Regions from separate parts of the Homo sapiens genome. Here all the other regions are linked to region 1. Evidence: promoter capture Hi-C in 16 types of primary human blood cells and fetal thymus (Javierre and others, 2016). All regions are on one chromosome and are shown on one strand. Each heading gives the region's core, a stretch centred on a gene start or on the middle of the fragment in contact. The rest is flanking DNA. Distances are from core to core; before and after follow the strand shown.

Region 1 (2,794 bases), core at 170-2,669:
CCAGGCCTGAGGTCAAAGTTCCACAGACCCGGGCTCAAGGGTCATAGCCTGGGGTTGGACTGCTGCCCAAACCCTAAGTCCTGCTCACTTAGCAGTCTTGAGGTCAGTGCTACTGACTCCCTAAGTTCCAGGTCACTGATCAGGCTGTGGGTTGGGGTTGCAGTCTGGGGTCAGGGGTCACTGACCTAGCCCCGTGGCATGAGGATGCACCACTGCCAGGCACAATGCAGCTCCAACTCCAGCATCCACGACGTTGCCCCCGGCAACAAGCAGCTCTCGGCCTAGGTGGGAGCATGTGGCTGCAGCAAGGAAGGCACTGTCATGCAGCAAGGAGGGGGGCTAGGCTGGGCTGGTGACCCCTGACCCTCCCCTCCCCAAGCCGCCCCCAGCACTGACTGACCTGCAGGGCTGATGATGGCACCGTGGTGGTATACGCCAGGGCCGTGGGAGTGTCCGCCGGGTGGAGGGGCCACAGAGCCCAAGCTTCCTGTCGACCTGCCCTGATTCTGGAGCTGCCTCACAGCCAGGGAGCAGCCAACAGCCAGCAGCAGCAGGGCTGCCACTACACGGGCCCAGGTTCCGGGCAGCCCGCCAGCCTTGTTCCTGCAGAGGGGGGGTGTCCTGAGCCACGGCTGGGACAGAGGGATGCCCAAGGACCCCAAGAGACCCCAGGGAATATTTCCCAAAAGGTTTGATTTAGCAAGAGGAGCACAAGTCAGCCAAGGAGAAAGGGCTTCTTGGCAGCGGGTGCATCTTGGGCAGACATGGGGATGGGAAAGCATCTGGGGAAACTGAGCCTAGCTAGGGAGGGAGCCTCTGGAGGGGAGATTGGTGGGGCAGAGTCCACTCAGGTGGGAGGGAGGCCCAGTGGGGTGTGGCAGGCAGGAGAGAAGGGGCTGGGGAGCAGGCCCAGCCAGGCGTAGTCAGGCCCCAACCTGCCCAGCAGGTGCCTCCTGCACCAGGACTTGGGGGCTGGGGACCTTTGACAAAGCAGCAGATGGGACAGAGGCTGGCTTGGTACAAATGTCCCTCCAGATGCACAGACTTTTGATTGGGTCAGGCCAAGTCTCGGGCTACAGCCTGGGTTTTCCCCCAAATTGACCGTACAGTGCCTGGAGCTAAACCCAGCGGGGAGTCGCCTGGTCCCCCTGAGGGGCTCCAGAGAGAGGGACTTGCCAACCTCAAGCCTGGGGAGCCTGGTGCCCAGACCCCTCCCTTACTTACCTGGAAGAGTCCTGGTGCCTCCGGGGGTTTAGAACCAGCGCCTCTGATGTCTCCTCCTCCTCCACTTCCTCCTCCGACTCCAAGCTTGGCTCCCAGGGCAGCAGCTTCTGATAGACCACGGGCTCTTCTGCCCGCTCCATGGCCCCCCAGTGCTCGCCCCAGCCCTCCTGCCTGCCAGCCTTTCCGGCTGTGTCTCAGAGGCCCTGCCCAAGCCTGGCAGGTGGGAGGTGGCAGCGACCTTGGGGAAGGGTGGGGGTGGAATCCAGAACAGGTCTGGGCAGGGCACGGGGCCAAGGAGGCTGCATGTGAGCCTGCCCCATTAGGACACAAGGCCCGAGGAGCTCTCGCGACAGGGTTCCCGGGGTGACTGCCTGTAAGGGGCCACAGCTCAGTGAGGTCGAGAAGGAGTTCAGCCTTAATGCCACAACCTTGATACTCAGGGCACCTGCTGGGCTCCTCCCCTTGGGGGATGTAGCCCATGGATCCCACCCACCTGGGACTCTAGGGACTGTGGACTTGAATTAGAGCTACGGTTTCACGGTGGCTTGGGTCAGAGCTCCCACGTGCTTGAGTCTGCACGTGACTAGGTTCTGGCGTAGGGGTGTCTGGTCTCTGGCCGGGGTCAAGGCTCAGCCTGTGGCTACTCTGGGTCTGGGTTTCTTTGAGGAGCAACTTGGTTCGTAACTCCCTGTGCGTGTTTTGCGACTCTTGTCCAGAAGGTAGCGCCACAGCCTGGAAACCAACATTTCTAAATTCATTCTGGGATTCCCATCAAGGACTTGTTGCAAAACAGTGCTGTTTGTAACAGTCCCAAATTGGAAAGTGCCCAAACATCCATTATCGTTAGAATGAATGATGTAAGTCACAATGGACCACTCTGCAGCAAAGAGAGTGAGTGATCTACAATTATATGCAATAATATACACAGGTCTGACAAGCATAAGGACGAGGGAAAGCAGCCAGGCAGGAGACAGCGCACGCTATATGCTTTCATTTACACAAAGTACACAAACAGGCAACAACAAAAGAGCAACAACAGTCTGCCCTTAGAAGTCAGATAGTGACTGGAGGAGGTACCAGGGGGTTTCTGGAATGCTGGAGATGTCCTTTCTTTCCTTCCTTTCTTTCCTTTCCTTTTTCCTTTACCTTTCTTTTCTTTCTCTTCTTTCTTTCTTGACAGAGTTTTCATTCTTGTTGCCCAGGCTGGAGTGCAATGGTGCAATCTCAGCTCACTGCAACTTCCACCTCCTGGGTTCAAGCAATTCTTCTGCCTCAGCCTCCCGAGTAGCTGGGATTACAGGCACATGCCACCACGCCTGGCTAATTTTTTGTATTTTTAGTAGAGACAGGGTTTCACCATGTTGGCCAGCCTGGTCTTGAACTCTTGACCTCAGGTGATCCGCCCGCCTCAGCCTCCCAAAAGTACTAGGATTACGGGTGTGAGCCACCGCGCCCGGCCGAGATGTTGTTTCTTAATCTGAGTGTTGGTGACACGAGTGCCCTGGGTGTGAAAATGCATTGAGTTGGGCATTGATGACGTGTACTTTTCTATGTGAATATTGTCTTTCAA
Region 2 (2,794 bases), core at 113-2,612, 470 kb after region 1:
GGAGGTGGCAGGTGGCTCAGGAAGGGCAGGAAAGTGACATTAGAGGTACAACAGGCCATTGCCAACACCAAGGCCAGAGTTAGGAAGGCCACAGAGTGGAGCTGCCCTGCCACTGGGGCCACGTGGTGCCACAGAGGGGCCAGCAGGGCTGTGCCCACTACACTCAGCACCTGTACCACCTGGATGGGGACCTGCTCGCCCTTGCCCGGGGCCAGCTGCCTCCACAGGGTCACCACCAGCAGACCCAGGTTTCCCAGCGCCACAACCACAGAGAGGTATGAGGGGAGGCTCCAACCTGCAGGGAAGGAATGATGCCATGTCAGGAGCACAGTGGCTAAGGGACAAAGAGCTGCCACAGGCCACCTTTCTGGGCATACCTGCCCCACGCTTCCCTGTACCTCCCTCCCACTCACCCTCTGGAAGGTCTTTTACCACCACAGGCAGCTCCACCCAGATCCCGTTCACAGCAGCCCAGGAGCCCATGCCAAAAAGGGCCACCAGCAGGTGGGTCAGCACCAGACGGCCCAGCGTGGGTGCTGCCATTCAGCCCAAAGCTGGACCCTCCAGGACAGGGCAAAGGTCACAGGCAGGTCCTTCCCTAGGTAGGTCCAAAGATGCTTTGGTTCTTCTGGAAACTGAAGACCTTCTAGCTGGAGGGAAACAGACAGGCTGGCAGGTAATAGGCTGGTGGGACAGAACCGGAGTCAGAAGACAAGTCGGTCAGACTGCTAAGACCAGGGCAACTGGAGGGAGAGGTGGCCGGGGGCGGGCGGGGAAGGTGGGGAGCCAGGACTTACCACGGGGCACCGGCTGTGCGTTTGGGTACAGCGACCCAGCAGTGCCGGCAGGCAGACAGGCAGAAAGCTGGCCCGAGGTGCAGCTGCCCCAGAGGAGCAAAGAGGGAGCTGATTTTCCTACCCACAGAGGACCCGGGGTCCAAGTTGTCAAAACAGCTCAGCACTGGCCGGGTGCGGTGGCTCACACCTGTAATCCCAGCACTTTGGGAAGCTGAGGAAGGCAGATCGCCTGAGGTCAGGAGATTGAGACCATCCTGGCCAACATGGTGAAAACCCGTCTCTACTAAAAATACAAAAATTAGCTGGTCGTGGTGGTGGGTGCCAGTAATCCCAGCTACTCAGGAGGCTGAGGCAGGAGATTCACTTGAACCCGGAAGGTGGAGGTTGCAGTGAGCCAAGATCACACCACTGCATTCCAGCCTGGGCGACAGAACGAGATTCGGTCTCAAAAACAAAACAAAACAAAACAAAACAAAAAAACAGCTCGGCACCAACACGCTCACCCTCAAATGGACCCCGGGACAAGGGCACGTCTCTGGTGCCACTTGCAACCCTAGCGCTTTTGCGACACTCAGGACTTGCTGAGGCAGGTCGAGTTGGAGAGGGGAGTGGCTGGGGCGGGCTCTGCCCGGAGGGGCGTCTCCGTGCTGCCCTCCCGCCTGCCTCAGGGGGGCATCCCGGGAGCCGCCAGGTGCGCAGGGGTCCCCGCACCTCCGGATCCGGCAGTCCCCGGACCCAGCGGCTGGCGGTCTGCCTGAGAGGGAGCCCCCTCCGCCGGGGAGGCGGCCCAGCCCAGAGCCCACACAGCTGGGGTTTTGTTGTTTGTTGTTTTAATTAATTAATTAATTTTGAGACGGGGTCTCACTCTGTCACCCAGGCTAGAGCGCAGCGGTGCGCGATCGCGGCTCACTACAGCCTCAACCTCCCAAGCTCAAGGGATCCTCCCACTCAGCCTCTCCCCACCCCCCCACAAGTAGCTGGGACCACAGGCGAGCATCACCATGTCCAGCTAATTTTTTTTTTTTTTTTTTTTTTTTTTGGTAGAGACAAGGTCTCACTATGTTGCTCAGGCTGGCTTGGCACTCCTGGGCTCAAGCAATCTTCCTACCTCAGCCTCCCAAGTAGCTGGGACTACAGACGCACCACACCTAGCTACCGCCACGCTCAGCTGTTTTTACACTTTTTTTTTTTTTTTTTTTTTTTGAGACGGAGTTTTGCTCTTGTTGCCCAGGCTGGAGTGCAATGGCACGAGCCTCTGCCTCCCGGGTTCAAGCCATTCTCCTGCCTCAGCCTCCCGAGTAGCTGGAATTACAGGCGCCCACCACCATGCCCTGCTAATTTTTGTCTTTTTAGTGCACAGGGTCTCGCCATGTTAGCTAGGCTGGTCTTGAACTCCTGACCTCAGGTGATCCACCTGCCCCGGCCTCCCAAAGTGTTGGGGATTACAGGCGTGAGCCACCGTGCCTGGCCAGCTGTTTTTACACTTTTAAATGGTTGAAAAAAAATTAGCTGGACGTGGTGTGCACACCTGGCTAATTTTTGCTTTTTTTTTTTTTTTTTTTTTTTTTTGAGACGGAGTCTCGCTCTGTCGCCCAGGCTGGAGTGCAGTGGCGCGATCTCGGCTCACTGCAAGCTCCACCTTCCAGGTTCACGCCATTCTCCTGCCTCAGACTCCCGAGTAGCTGGGATTACAGACGCCTGCCACCACGCCTGGATAATTTTTGTATTTTTCGTAGAGATGGGGTTTCACCATATTGGCCAGGCTCGTCTCGAACTCCTGACCTCAGGTGATCCGCCCGCCTCAGCCTCCCAAAGTGCTGGGATTACAGGCGTGAGCCACCATGTCTGGCCCTTTAATGATATTTTGTACTTGTTTACTCACTGACCATCTCAGGGATTACCCTGACCTACTACCCATTTTTGTATGGCCTGCTAGCTAAGACAGGTTTTCACATATTTATTTATTTATTTTTATTACTATTTTTGAGAAAGTGTCT
Region 3 (2,794 bases), core at 1-2,500, 450 kb after region 1:
AGCGTGCCTGCTCAGTGGCTGTCTTGCCTCCACCTGCCAGTTTGGTTAGGGCGAGACAACCTTGTTTACTGGGGCAGGAGAGTTGGGAAACATAGACCCCCTCATTCTTAGACCCTGATGCCATTGCCTTGGCCTCCCTTGGTGGGGCCTTCCCTGGGGGCGGGAGAAGGGAAACACGGCCTGGTCTGTGCGGTTGAGGGCTGGGCAGCTAAGGGCATGTGGCTCCTTGGGCTGGTATTATGAAGTCATGGGGGCTCGGTGCCTCCCCTAAAGGGGTGAGGGTGCCCTTCCCCTCCCACCACAGGCATTCGTGGCTGTCCTTGGTAGTCATCTTGGGTAGGGAGTGAGCTCTCAGGATCATCAACCTAAGGATGGGTGGAGGCCTGTGGCTGAGGGTGCCCGTTTCTCCCAGGTTTGCTTGTACCCAGGTAGCATGTACCCAGTGGCCCGGGGGGCAGCCTCTGCTTTTGGGGTATGGCTGCTGAGGGTTAGCCACATTGGTGCCTCCCTTCCCTGGTGGTCCCTGGAGATAACTCAGATCTCTAAACAGCTGCCTCCACAGCCCTGCATGCTCTCCCAGCTTCAAGAGAAGTTGGCGAGCCTGCTGTATAACATGGTGACTAAGAGCATGGCTTCAGAGTCAGGCAGACCTGGGCTCAGATCCCAGCATCACTTCACTGCCCACTGAATGAACCCGGGCAAGCCATTTCACCTCCCTGAGCCTCTGCTTCCTCATCTGTGAAATGGGAATAATTGGCTTGGTTCATTGAGTTGGATAAACTGGTGTTCAGGAGGGGCTTGGTTAAAGTCTGGCACATGCTCACAAACGTTGGCCATTGCTTCCCCAGGGTCGGCCAAGTAGATATGGACATCAAGCTGACCGGACAGTTCATTCGGGAGCAACACTGTCTGTTCCGGAGCATCCCCCAGCCAGATGGAGAAGGTAATGGCTGAGGGGGTGAGAGAGGCCAGACAGGGAGAGAGGCCCCATGTTCCACCCCACACACTGAACTCAGAGGTCTGGGTTGGGCACCAGGGAGTGCAGCCATATAAAGAGGGGATGTGGCCTTGTCCTCAGAGGGGCTTGGGGCTCATGGGTATGAATGGAGGAATACCACAGGCCCAGCCCTCTGCACCCACCCTGAGAAGACAGACTACTGTGTGGTCAGGCACTGGCGAGGGTTCTAAGGTAGAAATGGGACACTAGTGAGCCAGAGTGTGGGATTTTGCTGAAGAGAAGATCCTGCCCTTCTTGATCTTGTTCACCACAACTAGCACTCTGATCCTTTTTAAACAAAAACCTGTATTTGAATATCGGAACTTGTCCCTGTGGAAAACCTGCCTCTATCCAGCTATGACTGCCGAGATTTCTTTTTCTTTTTCTTTTTCTTTTTCTTTTTTTTTTGAGACGGAGTGTTCGCTCTTGTCGCCCAGGCTGGAGTGCAATGGCGCGATCTGGGCTCACTGCAGCCTCAACCTCCCGGGTTCAAGCAATTCTCCTGCCTCAGCCTCCCGAGTAGCCGGGATTACAAGCATGTGCCACCATGCCTGGCTAATTTTGTGTTTTTAGTAGAGACGGGGTTTCTCCCATGTTGGTCAGGCTGGTCTCGAACTCCTGACCTCAGGTGATCCGCCTGCCTCGGCCTTCCGAAGTGCTGGGATTACAGGCGTGAGCCACTGCCCCCAGCTTTTTTTTTTTTTTTTTTTTTTTTTTATCATTTGAGACGGAGTCTCACTGTTTCCCCCAGGCTGGAGTGCAGTGGCATGATCTTGGCTCACTGCAGCCCCCACCTCCCAGGTTCAAGTGATTCTCTTGCCTCAACCCCGAGTAGCTGGGATTACAGGCACGCGCCACCACACCAGGCTAATTTTTGTATTTTTAGTAGAGACGGGGTTTCACCATGTTGGTCAGACTGGTCTTGAACTCCTGATCTCATGTGATCCGCCCACCTTGGCCTCCCAAAGCACTGGGATTACAGGCGTGAGCCACTGCACCTGCTGAGGTGTATTTTTGAGGCCACCAGTTTGTTTTAGTTCTAACACTTAAAAAAAAATAGAATGATTTGGGTTCACATAAGCTCAAGCAAAGTCTCTGTGAAAATGAGTTGGGCAGGGAGGAAGGACGTGGTACACATGTGCTGTCTGTCAGCTTGGACCTGGTGTGTGTGTTGTGCCTCAGAGACCTAGGAGTGCTTGGCCTAACACCTTCCAGGGGACAAGGGACCTGGGGTGTGTATGGTCAGCACTTTTTTTTTTTTTTTGAGATGGAGTCTCGCTGTGTCGTCCAGGCTGGAGTGCAGTGGTGCGATCTCGACTCACTGCAACCTCTGCCTCCCGGGTTCAAGTAATTCTCCTGCCTCAGCCTCCCGAGTAGCTGGGACTACAGGTGTGCGCCACCACACCCGGCTAATTTTGTATTTTTAGTAGAAACAGGGTTTCTCCAACTCCCAACCTCAGGTGATCCTCCTGCCTTGACCTCCCAAGGTGCTGGGATTACAGGCTTGAGCCACCACACCCAGCCCTAATTTTTGTATTTTTAGTAGAGACAGGGTTTCACCATGTTGGTCAGGCTAGTCTTGAACTCCTGACCTTGTGATCCACCTGCCTCGGCCTCCCAAAGTGCCAGGATTACAGGCGTGAGCCACCGCACCCGGCCAGCACATTTTAAAAAATAACAAAAGACGCTATCATGTGCGTCTTACAGTGAGGTTTAAGACATACCTCTTGGGGCTGGTGGGGTGGCTCATGCCTGTAATCTTAGCACTTTGGGAGGCCGAGGTGGGTGGATCACTTG
Region 4 (2,794 bases), core at 143-2,642, 400 kb before region 1:
CTCTGAGTCCATCAGAGACTGAGCCCAGTGCCCTGAGGTGGGCAAGGCCCCTGCCCAAGATAGGAGGGTGCTCAGGTTGTTGGGCCACAGCTGAATCCTCCGTGTCTGAAGCCTAGTGCCATCAAGGACTGGACCTGTGGGGCACAGGACAGCTTGCAGCTACACTCTATGCCAAGGGCTTCCCAGAGAAGGCCGACCCAGGTGGCCAAGGGCCAGGGCCCAATTGCCCACCCCCAGCCAAGTGCCCCAGAGAAGAAGGTGAAGACCCTGACCTGCGCTGGGTTGTAGTGGGGAAGGAAGAGGACAGTCGCACCCAGACACTGCTTCTGAGAAGCTCACAGGCCAGCAGGGGAAGCCCTTTCACAGCTGTTGCCACCAGTGCAGGAACGTGGTGCTGCCTCCTAAGAAGGGGCAGGGCAGGGGCTGGGGAGCACAGTGAAAGGAACCATGGACTGTGCCCTTGGCCTGGGGAAGGTGGTGGTGGCCCTGCAGGGGAAGCTGGAGGATGTTAGGAGAGAGCATGAAGGCTCAGGGGCTGAGCGCTGTAGCCTGCTGCCTTGGGAAACACTCTGGTAGGCTTCTACTTTTCAGAAGGCCTGGCTCTCTGCTTCCTGCTCTCCCCTTCCCAGAGACTCATGAGTTCTCACATTTAAGAAGTCCTCTTTCCGTCTATCCTTAGTGGAGGTGTGAGCAGAGACTGGATTGGCGTCCCCAGGAAGCTGTATAAGCCAGGTGCTAAGGAGCCCCGCTGCGTGTGTGTGAGAACCACCGGCCCCCCTAGTGGCCAGATGCCGGACAACCCTCCACACAGAAATCGTGGGGACCTGGACCACCCAAACTTGGCAGAGTACACAGGCTGCCCACCGCTAGCCATCACATGCTCCTTTCCACTCTAAGCCGTAGCCTCTTCTGTTAATAACACACAGAGAGCTCTGCCAAGCACCTGAGTAGGCCCTTGACACTTGTGTGCCCTGGGATGCCTCCTGGCGCGAATCAGGAGGGTCTGGAAGGACTCTGGCTATATTCTGCAAATGTGGCTCATGCCCCTTACCGTGGCTCGGCGTTGTGGTGCCTGAGGGACAGCCGGCCACCTGCCCAGTACTGGTCAGCTTTTCAACACTATTCCCTTTGACCTACTGGCCATCTTCCTCACAGCCCTCAGATATCAACGGGCACAAATAAGACCAACTCAATTTCCACTTGAATTTACAACCAAAAGCCTGCTGAGTTGATTACAGCTGGGCCAATACAGTACGAGGCAATAACAAATTAGTGTGGGTTGATTCTGGAATTGGAAAAGCTTTTGCTTGTATGGATACAGCAAATCCAGATGTCTCTGAACAAAGCAACAATTTAAAGCAACGACATTTTCTGTCCTTTAAGCACTTAAAATCAGGTGTGGTGTGTTTTCAAAGGCAGAAGTCTGCATTTTGAGCAAAAGGTGGCTTCCCAGCTCTAACAAGGTAACTGGTTAGCATGACATTAAAGCTTGGGCAAGGCTTCAAACTTAAGGTGGCTGGGCTTGCTGCTTGTCCAGTGGTTTGTATGTCCAGCGTCATCTGGCAATGTCATACCTGTTACCTCTTGACTACTTGTGAAGGTAGATGGGGGCAAGGAGTGTTCCTACTTCAGACAGAGAAGTGGGACCAGCACTACCACAGACAGCGCCACGGCCTCTGTGCATCGCCTCATCAGAGCTTCCACCCAGCTCCCTTTGCCGCTCAGTCTCACCCTCAACATCCACCAGCTTCCTCCCTCTCTGTCACTGTCTCCTTTTTCTCCATCATTCATTTCACTAAATCGCTTTCCAGATTCACAGACTAGAAAATGGAGGCTGCCTCCCCTTCACTGGCAGACCCGTACTCACTGCCCCTGTCCCCTTCACTGGCAGACCCGTGCTCACTGCCCCTGTCCCCTCACTGGCAGACCCGTGCTCACTGCCCCTGTCCCCTCACTGGCAGACCCGGGCTTATTGCCCCTATGGCCACAGCTGTTCCTTACACTTGGGCTCTGGCTCATGGCTCCTTTTGCCTGCCCCCGCCATCCTCCTCACCTGCCCCTCTTGTACCTTTAACCTCTCCCCGTCTCCTGGATCTTCCCCCAGGTATGCATCAAACAGCTCACTTCTCTCACATCATAAACATTCCCTCAACTCCAGTTTTGGCTTATACTCACTAGCTTTGCTTTTCAGCTCCATTTGCTCTAAAAATCAGGAGAAATTCTGCATTGGCACATTCCGTGGTCACATCCAGTTCTTACCTAGGCTTTGTCACTCTGGATACTGTGGACCGTGGGGTCCTCCATGAAACCCTCGCTGGGCTTTATCCTGCTTCCCTTTTTGCCTCTGCCCATTCCTTCTTAATTGCCTTGAGAACCCCGTTTTGCCTCCACAAACCCCTTCCCATTGGCTCCTCTCACTCCAAATCCGACAGTTACTTAGACCGTCAAACCTGCACGTCTACTCCAGGCAGCTTTGCAGAGCATTTCACCTTCCCCTCCCATGCTGCTTCTAGTTCTCCAAGGGAATGGCACCACCAGCTACACGCAGAGTCAGCATCCGAGCAGCCGTCCACACTCCATCCTCCCTTCCCTCCTCCTAACCCGCCTGCAGGTCCTGGGACCTCTGCCTCCCTCATTCTCTCCCTTTCCTTCCCTCTTATCTGTCCCTAGTACTCTTCCTCTGGCCTAGGCTGTCATTTCTCACTTGGATTACTGAAGGATCCTAACTGTACTCCCTCCCTCCAATCCCTCCTCCACACTGCTGGGAGCCGTCTTTCTTTCTTTCTTTCTTTCT
Region 5 (2,794 bases), core at 157-2,656, 410 kb after region 1:
ATGTGACCTCAGGCGAGTGACTCATTTAAGCTTCCCAGTCTGTCAATGCCGGGTGATCCCCCACTTAGACAGTCATCGGAGCATTAGAGAATTCCAGTTCCCCATTCCCATCATGCTTCCTCCTTTCTCAGAGATTTCAAATAGACTCTTCTGCCTGTAACGCTTTGCTTCTCTCTCTCATTTACGGAATTACCTGTTCTGATCTCGGCTCACTGCAGATTGGGGGAGAACCTCAGGTGGCCGCTCTCACAGTTATTTTTCTCTCAGAGCACTTATCAAGTTGGTTATTAAACTTACGTGTGATCACTGCATCAATGAGCGCCCCAGCCCCGGACTGTGGCCTCCCTGAGGGGTACCCCTGGTCCCTAACGGTTGTTCAAGAAACAAGGGGACGAAGCGTAGGCAACCAGCGGCCCTTGAATACTTGGAAGGCGTCCTGCCTGCTCTGGTCCCCCTGGGGCACGTGGGGAGCTGGGACAGGGCTCGTCCGTGGTCAAGGTCCGCAGGTTTGGGAGTTGGGGTCCTGCGTTCCGCCAGTATCATCCCAAGCTGCAACACGAGCAGCCCCGGGGAGGCTCCCACCGCCCTGCAGGGCCGCGCCCTACGCCGGCCGCCGAACTCCAGCCCACCCGCAGGGAAGCTACTCCGAGAACGCAGGCGGAGACAGTGGCCAATCGGACCCGGCGGGTATTCTCATCCCTCCAATCAACACTACGATCCGCCCGGGCAGCTCGGGAATTTAAGGCTACGGATGGGAAAAAGGTTGTCGGAGGGAGGCAGAAGGGACTGGGTTAAATTAAGCAGGAGGGGCAAGAACACACAGAGGACCCTGCAACCAATGGGAATTCGCAGGCTGGGGTGGTTTCGAAGGAAGGTCGAACAGGCCTGAGGAGGCAGAGCTTTAAGTTGAGATAGCCAATAGAGATGAAGGCACAGTAGATGGCGTGTCCTAAATCCAATCGAAATAGAGCTAGAGGTGAGCGGGGCAGGAATGCGGCAGGTTGGAGGCACCCTACCAATCAGACCAGGTCAGCAGCGGACAGGCGGGACGGCCGGCTAATGGGAAACAAGGACTGCGGAAGGCCAGGGTCGGGAGAAGAGGCAGGAGGCTGGCGCTATCTTTCAGGTAGCCAATCACTGTCCGCTAAGAACAGCGGGCGTGTCAGCAGCCCTTTTAGGGACTCTGAGGGTCTCGGAAGGGGCCTGTGAGGGGTCTTTCAAGGTTGAGGAGGCGGCATCGTCCAAAGAGGGAGAAGTATGGTCCCGAGAACCGGGCGAAGGAAGGCGGTTGTGAATTTGGGATCCTCACCTCGGGCCTTGCGCCGAGTCTCCTGGTCACCGAGGCTGGGTGGCTTCTCCATGGAGCTCAGGATGGAGCCCAGTAGGTCCGCCATCTTGGGAGTGACTGAGAGGGGGCGGTGCGTCTTAAAGGGAAGGGCGGAATGCCTTTAAGGCCGGAAACACGTCGGAGGCGGAAAACCCTGGGCCCGCCTGGCCTGGGCGCAGATCCCAGGCCCGCGGTGCATGGCGGCCTCCAGCTGGCCTAGGCCCCGCCCCGCCCCCGCAGACAGAGGCCGGAGGCTGGCTGGTGCAGCGATGTTTAATGGCAATTCGTATAAACCAAGCCCATGCACAAGTAGAAAGTGCCCGTGGAGCCGGCAGGAGGCCCCCGCCGCGCTAGAGAACCACAAGCCCGGCCGTGCAGCCCTCCCCGCGGCGCCTTAAATAGATTCTTCACTATACTCTGTATGTTACAGTATGTACAAGACCCCTCCCCTCGGGGGACGGGGCGGACTCCGCAACGCGTTCCTATGTACACCACCTCCCCTTCGGCCCTGAGGTCAGTGGCCAGAGTCGGGTGATGGGGTAAGACAGGGCCAGAGAGGGAGGAAACAGACGCAAACATGCGGAGTCGGGTGGGGACACGGTCAGCCCTGAAACACGAGGGGCGTGCGCAGCGAAGGCAGTGGTGGGAACCGAGGCGGATACATTCAGAGACGCGTCGAACAAATAAATAAGGCAAGTCAGGAGGGGGCCGAGTCGGGTGCAGGCAGGAGGAGCTGGGGAGCAGGGGCAGGCAGGGCTCCGGAGGTCACAGCGGAAGATGCAGGTATGTGGGGCGCGGGTTTTCTGGAGCCAGGACCAAAAGAGACGGGGCACGACCAGGAGGGACGAGGAGAGGGGTGTGGGAGCAAGGCGTGGGGAGGAGGGAGGAGGCCTACAGAGGGCTCCAACAAAGGTGAACAGGAAAGCTGCCGACAGGGGCTCCCCCTGCCCCAGAAAGCCCTCTCCCTGTTAAGACTGCACGAGGCGCCCCCAGGGTGGTGAGAAAGGCGGTGGCCAGGTCATGTGGCCAGTCCCGGCTGGGGAAGCCCTTCCAGCTCCTGGTTCTGCTTCAGTTCCCTCATCCTGCAGAGAGAAAGATAGGAGTCAGAGGAGACTGGCGGATCACGACGGGTGGCAACGCAAAAGCCCAGGGGGAGAAGGGATGAGTACCTGTGTCGGCAGCGCCGCAGGAATCTCATGATCTTCCGGGCTGCCTGGTCCTGCTTCTTGGTGAGAAAGGAGCCTCTGGTGAAAGAAACAAAAGATGGACCTCACAGAAGGCATCGCATGCCTTCGGCCCCCCCAGGAACCCTAGGCAGGGAATGGCAGTGAGGCATGATGATCAAGAGGATGAGTAAGGGGGAATGGCGTGGATGCAGTGGGTGGGCACAGAGGGCTGGGGCTGGGCCCTACTTGTTGCGGGCAGGCAGGGTGGCCGAAGTCCGGTGGGGAGGGCCGGGCCTGCGGC
Region 6 (2,794 bases), core at 95-2,594, 370 kb after region 1:
GTAAATGAGTGGATGATGGTGCCACTCACCAGGCTGAGCAACACAGGAGGAGAAGCCATTTGGAGAGAGATGGTGAGTTCAGCTTTGAACATATTGTTTTGGTGTCTGTGGGACATCCAAGTAGAGATGTCCAGAAGGCAGCTGGACATATGTGCTTGTGTCTCAGGAGAAGGGTCTGGACTAGAGACATAGATTTGAGAGTCATTAGGTTGTAGGTGGTGGTTGAAGGCAAGGGAATGGATGAGGATAATCTCAGGTGGTTGCATAGCGTAAGAAAAGAAGAGAATGCCGGGCGCGGTGGCTCATGCCTCTAATCCCAGCACTTCGGGAAGCCAATGTGGGTGGATCACTTGAGATGAGGAGTTCGAGACCAGGCTGACCAACATGGTGAAACCCCGTCTCTACTAAAAATATAAAAATTAGCTGGGAATGAAGACAGCCTAAGCACAAACTCTGGGGGCAGTTTAATTGTTCAAGAAGGGGAATCTATGAAGGAGACTGAGAAGGCCCAACCAAACAGGTAAGAAGAAAACCAAGAAAATTACAGGGTCATGTGTCACAGAGGCCAAAAGGAGAATCCCAAGGGGCGAGTGGCCATGGGTATGCAGGCTGCCGAAATAAAGTAAGATCACAGTGGAGAAGTTTCCCATGGATGTAGAGGAGGGAGAGCATTAAAGACCTTGGTAAGAACCGAGTCAATGGAGTAGCAGGGGAAAGAAATCAGCATAGACTGGGGTGAGAAGGCAGAGAGAAAGGTGGGAGAGAATTAAAAGTAGGCAACTCTCAGAATGCAGCTGTGAAGAGGAAGAGAAGCGGGCATCTGGAGAGGTTTTTTTGTTTTTAAGATGGAGTTTTGCTCTTGTCACCCAGGCTGGAGTACAATGGCACGATCTCGGCTCACCGCAACCTCTTTCCACCTCCCGGTTTCAAGCGATTCTCCTGCCTCAGCCTCCCGAGTAGCTGGGATTACAGGCATGCGCCACCACGCCTGGCTAATGTATTTTTAGTAGAGACAGGGTTTCCCCGTGTTGGTCAGGCTGGTCTCGAACTCCTGACTTCAGGTGATCCGCCCGCCTCAGCCTCCCAAAGTTCTGGGATTACAGGCATGAGCCACGCGCCCGGCCCTGGAGAGGTTTTTAAAAGATGGCAGAAGGCTGTTTGGAGGAGTCCACCCCCATCTCCCCTGTGTAAAAGGAAAGCGGAAGAGAGAACCACAAAGAGGGCCTGGGGGAAAGCCGTGGAGTGAGGCGATAAGGGCTTGTGTCCAGGGGATTCCCGGTCACTGGAATCCCTATCAGGCCTGCATTTCCTCCTCACCCCCATCCCCTTCCTTGCCACTGGCTTAGTCCTCCATGGGGCTAGAAGAGAGAAGGACGGAGTCGAGTGGCACCCTAGAAGACGCTCTGTGCCTTCGGAGGTCTTTCTGCCTGCCTGTAAGCCGGGGTTGGTGCTGGGGCAGGAGAGGGGTCTGAGGGAGGGGAAAGAGCCAAGGACCTGGAGCTAGTAGTTTTAAGTTCTGCAGGCAAGGGTGGGAGATGGGAGTAGGGAGGACAGGAGGTGTGGATGCTGTTTCTGGAAGCGAAGCTGCAGGGGGAAGGGGGCTGGGGCCTGGGGGGATGCTTCCAGGGGATGCAGGGGGATCCACTCAAGGCTCCCTTGCCCACAGGTCCTCATGCCTCTCCTCCTCTTGCTGCTCCTGCTGCCAAGCCCCTTACACCCCCACCCCATCTGTGAGGTCTCCAAAGTGGCCAGCCACCTAGAAGTGAACTGTGACAAGAGGAATCTGACAGCGCTGCCTCCAGACCTGCCGAAAGACACAACCATCCTCCACCTGAGTGAGAACCTCCTGTACACCTTCTCCCTGGCAACCCTGATGCCTTACACTCGCCTCACTCAGCTGAACCTAGATAGGTGCGAGCTCACCAAGCTCCAGGTCGATGGGACGCTGCCAGTGCTGGGGACCCTGGATCTATCCCACAATCAGCTGCAAAGCCTGCCCTTGCTAGGGCAGACACTGCCTGCTCTCACCGTCCTGGACGTCTCCTTCAACCGGCTGACCTCGCTGCCTCTTGGTGCCCTGCGTGGTCTTGGCGAACTCCAAGAGCTCTACCTGAAAGGCAATGAGCTGAAGACCCTGCCCCCAGGGCTCCTGACGCCCACACCCAAGCTGGAGAAGCTCAGTCTGGCTAACAACAACTTGACTGAGCTCCCCGCTGGGCTCCTGAATGGGCTGGAGAATCTCGACACCCTTCTCCTCCAAGAGAACTCGCTGTATACAATACCAAAGGGCTTTTTTGGGTCCCACCTCCTGCCTTTTGCTTTTCTCCACGGGAACCCCTGGTTATGCAACTGTGAGATCCTCTATTTTCGTCGCTGGCTGCAGGACAATGCTGAAAATGTCTACGTATGGAAGCAAGGTGTGGACGTCAAGGCCATGACCTCTAACGTGGCCAGTGTGCAGTGTGACAATTCAGACAAGTTTCCCGTCTACAAATACCCAGGAAAGGGGTGCCCCACCCTTGGTGATGAAGGTGACACAGACCTATATGATTACTACCCAGAAGAGGACACTGAGGGCGATAAGGTGCGTGCCACAAGGACTGTGGTCAAGTTCCCCACCAAAGCCCATACAACCCCCTGGGGTCTATTCTACTCATGGTCCACTGCTTCTCTAGACAGCCAAATGCCCTCCTCCTTGCATCCAACACAAGAATCCACTAAGGAGCAGACCACATTCCCACCTAGATGGACCCCAAATTTCACACTTCACATGGAATCCATCACATTCTCCAAA
Region 7 (2,794 bases), core at 182-2,681, 360 kb before region 1:
AAGGCTGCACCTACCCACCCACCCCCCCCACCACCCCCCACCCACACAGTGAGTCAGGGCCCAAGGCTGCACCTACCCCGCCCCCCACCTCCCCCCAAAAACACACACTTTGAGTCAGAGCCCAAGGCTGCATCTACTACACACACACACACACACACACACACACACACACACACACACACACACTGCGAGTTTATTGCCGTTGGAGGAAAAAAATGAAAGAATCAACAGCAGGGAAAGGGATGCAATTATTTTAGGAAATAAGGTAATTATCACATGATACTGAGATTTCATGAAGCTACATCTTATTTACGTACTTATCTATCACATAAATACATTCTCCTGTCTGACAACCAAACTTTACAAAAAATCTTTTTTTTGAGAGGTTTTTCAAAGGTATAAAATACTGAGAATGTTCTAATGACAAGCGGGTCCCAACTGTGGTCAGTGATTCAGGTGACTTAACTATCCTTCACAGCCCCTCACACCACTGTCCCAAGACAAGTAGCCTTTTCTCAGATCCTACCACAAGGAATCCTCAACTATTTCTGGAAAGGGGCAAAATGAACACAATAAATATTGTTAAATATGCAAAGGGCCGTGCTATGGACAAAGGTAGCAAGCTGTGCAGATAAAGTGGGAGTGTTTACGAGAAGGTAAAATTGGGTTTAATATAGAGAATTTTCTAACAATTAGAATTTTCTAACAATTAGACCTCAATAGTTCTTCAAACTATCCAAGCAACTCTAAGAAATGCTACAAGGTTTCCTTGGAGGCACTGGACTAGATGACCACTCTGGTTCCTTCAAACATGAGATACAAATTGCTTAAAAGCTCGAAAACTGGCTCACGCCCGTAATCCCAGCACTTTGGGAGACCGAGGTGGGCAGATTGCTTGAGCTCAGGAGTTCGAGGCCAGCCTGGACAACATGGCAAAACCCTGTCTCCACCAAAATACAAAAATCAGCCAAGTGGGGTGGCGTGTGCCTGTAGTCTCACCTACTCAGGAGGCTGAGGTGAGAGGATCACCTGTGCTCAGGAGGTAGAGGCTGCAGTGAGCCAAGATCATACCACTGCGCTCCAGCCTGGGTGACAGAGTGAGATGCTGACACAATTAAAAACAAACAAACAACACACAAAAAAAACCTCGAAGACTTCAGTTACCCAGGATAGAAATGTTTTCCCCAAATGCCTCTGGTTTTAGTAGTGACACTACTACTACACATCGATGTCTGTGACTTTAATGAAAATAAGACTGAATAATGCCAAACTAAAGAACATGAACTCCCCGTATGCCAATTACATGCTACTGTAAGATATCTTCTGAGAACAGTGCTAAGGGCACAGTGTCTGCTCCCCAGCTTACCTCCCCTTGCTGTCCTGCATGTTGGGGTTGGCACCAGCCTGCAGAAGGGCCTCTGCAATCTGCGCCATCTCAGACATCACATCTGCTGAGTGTTTCTTTGAACTGTACAAGGCCACAAGGTGCAGTGGTGTCTCCTGGGCACCCAGTGTAGCAGCGTTGACAAAGGCCCCATTCTTAATGAGGAAAGTGGCAGCAAAGAGATCTCCTTGAAAAGAAATAATAGAAGAAACAGTGTCAGGGCAAAGTATTCTGGCCAGTGCTTCTTCAAGAGGGAGCAGAAAATGACTGCAGACAAAGGAGAGCGATAACTAGATGTGTCTGAAGGAACCTCTTGGGGCATCTGTAAGTGGAAACTCATTGAGATCATGGAGTTACAGACGAATTCAAAAGGCTCTGCTCAATTTTTGGTTACCTGTTACCACTTGTCCTGCCTCCTCACCTCAGTATCCTTTCACTGTTTAAGAATACTAGGCTGGGCCAGGCGCAGTGGCTCATGCCTGTCGTCCCAACACTTTGGGAGGCCGAGGTGGGCGGATCACCTGGGGTCGGGAGTTGGAGACCAGCCTGACCAACAGGGAAAAACCCCGTCTCTACTACAAATACAAAACTAGCCGGGCGTGGTGGTGCACGCCTGTAATCCCAGCTACTTGGGAGGCTGAGGCACGAGATTCGCTTGAACCCAGGGGGTGGAGGTTGCGGTGAGCTGAGACCACATCATTGCACTCCAGCCTGGGGATTAAGAGCAAAACTCCGTCTTAAAAAAAAAAAAAAGAACACTAGGCTTCTACTCTTCAAAGGCCTCCTTCGGTCATCTCTCAGAAGGGTTTCCAGGATCCCTCCCTACACAATTTCTCTCTCTCTTTCTCTTTCTTTCTTATTTCCTGACCACAGCTTGTACCTAACTAAGCAACACCTACCCCCATTCTGCTGTACTTGCATTCACGTTCCTACTCAGAGTAATCCCATGTCTGTTTTATTATTATAAAATTTATTTTCTTTTTAGATTTTTTTTTTTTTCAGACAGAGCCTTGCTCTGTCACCCAGGCTGGAGTGCCGTGGTGCAATCTCAGCTCACTGCAACTTCCGCCTCCGAAATTCAAGCAATTCTCATGTCTCAGCCTCCCAAGCAGCTGGGACTATAGGCATGTGCCACCACACCTGGCTAATTTTTTGTATTTTAGTAGGGACGGGGTTTCACCATGATGTACAGGCTGGTCTCAAACTCCTGAGCTCAGGAAAACCACCTGCCTCGGCCTCCCAAAATGCTGGGATTACAGATGTGAGCCACCGTGCCCGGCCTCTTTTTAGTTTTGTAATCTCATTATATACACATAACTGACTTAATAAGAAGTTTACAATGAAATATTTGAACAGAGTATCTGTACACATTACTATTTACAAAAATTTCACATGGTAAATAACCTTGTT

Evidence for each region. Contacts are between HindIII fragments. The CHiCAGO score rates a contact against its expected background, and 5 or more counts as called.
Region 2: a contact is called between the fragment with the promoter of SLC52A1 here and the fragment with the promoter of GGT6 in region 1, in 6 of 17 cell types (neutrophils, monocytes, non-activated CD4 T cells and 3 more). The highest score is 12.7, in neutrophils.
Region 3: a fragment that was not itself captured here is called in contact with the fragment with the promoter of GGT6 in region 1 in 1 of 17 cell types (neutrophils); the score reaches 8.6 in neutrophils.
Region 4: a contact is called between a fragment that was not itself captured here and the fragment with the promoter of GGT6 in region 1, in 1 of 17 cell types (M1 macrophages). The highest score is 5.6, in M1 macrophages.
Region 5: the fragment with the promoter of SPAG7 here is called in contact with the fragment with the promoter of GGT6 in region 1 in 1 of 17 cell types (neutrophils); the score reaches 5.6 in neutrophils.
Region 6: the fragment with the promoter of GP1BA here is called in contact with the fragment with the promoter of GGT6 in region 1 in 2 of 17 cell types (neutrophils and erythroblasts); the score reaches 8.9 in neutrophils.
Region 7: a contact is called between a fragment that was not itself captured here and the fragment with the promoter of GGT6 in region 1, in 3 of 17 cell types (M0 macrophages, naive CD8 T cells and M1 macrophages). The highest score is 6.5, in M0 macrophages.

What each region holds. Positions count from the first base shown.
Region 1 is chr17:4,559,158-4,561,951 of GRCh38, forward strand. It overlaps GGT6 (gamma-glutamyltransferase 6), which reads right to left and starts at 1,420. Exons shown (of 4, transcript NM_001288702.2): 1 at 1,225-1,420; 2 at 401-603; 3 at 186-299. The coding sequence starts at 1,364. The HindIII fragment of the contact is 2,996 bases long and covers 1,307-2,794 here.
Region 2 is chr17:5,034,064-5,036,857 of GRCh38, forward strand. It overlaps SLC52A1 (solute carrier family 52 member 1), which reads right to left and starts at 1,363. Exons shown (of 5, transcript NM_017986.4): 1 at 798-1,363; 2 at 414-650; 3 at 1-295. The coding sequence starts at 543. All of the region lies in intron 3 of LOC105371501 (a long non-coding RNA gene), which reads left to right. The HindIII fragment of the contact is 18,376 bases long and covers 1-2,794 here.
Region 3 is chr17:5,013,895-5,016,688 of GRCh38, forward strand. KIF1C (kinesin family member 1C) reads left to right here. Exons shown (of 23, transcript NM_006612.6): 18 at 849-943. Among named protein-coding and RNA genes, the nearest start is that of KIF1C-AS1, 4.8 kb to the right of the region's middle. The HindIII fragment of the contact is 9,804 bases long and covers 1-2,794 here.
Region 4 is chr17:4,156,187-4,158,980 of GRCh38, forward strand. CYB5D2 (cytochrome b5 domain containing 2) reads left to right here. Exons shown (of 4, transcript NM_144611.4): 4 at 680-1,511. The coding sequence ends at 896. LOC124903898 (a long non-coding RNA gene) reads right to left here and starts at 7. Exons shown (of 3, transcript XR_007065581.1): 1 at 1-7. The HindIII fragment of the contact is 188 bases long and covers 1,299-1,486 here.
Region 5 is chr17:4,966,411-4,969,204 of GRCh38, forward strand. It overlaps SPAG7 (sperm associated antigen 7), which reads right to left and starts at 1,407. Exons shown (of 7, transcript NM_004890.3): 1 at 1,310-1,407. The coding sequence starts at 1,394. CAMTA2 (calmodulin binding transcription activator 2) reads right to left here. Exons shown (of 23, transcript NM_015099.4): 21 at 2,740-2,794; 22 at 2,497-2,571; 23 at 1,587-2,409. The coding sequence ends at 2,346. LOC124900387 (a long non-coding RNA gene) reads right to left here and starts at 1,303. Exons shown (of 2, transcript XR_007065587.1): 1 at 1-1,303. RefSeq lists enhancers at 452-1,129, 1,043-1,542, 1,130-1,806, 1,807-2,484, 2,452-2,794 and 1 more and a silencer at 1,553-1,632. The HindIII fragment of the contact is 6,795 bases long and covers 29-2,794 here.
Region 6 is chr17:4,930,933-4,933,726 of GRCh38, forward strand. It overlaps GP1BA (glycoprotein Ib platelet subunit alpha), which reads left to right and starts at 1,345. Exons shown (of 2, transcript NM_000173.7): 1 at 1,345-1,433; 2 at 1,667-2,794. The coding sequence starts at 1,673. The HindIII fragment of the contact is 9,310 bases long and covers 1-2,794 here.
Region 7 is chr17:4,196,007-4,198,800 of GRCh38, forward strand. It overlaps ANKFY1 (ankyrin repeat and FYVE domain containing 1), which reads right to left. Exons shown (of 25, transcript NM_001330063.2): 8 at 1,367-1,571. Among named protein-coding and RNA genes, the nearest start is that of CYB5D2, 54 kb to the left of the region's middle. The HindIII fragment of the contact is 8,607 bases long and covers 1-2,794 here.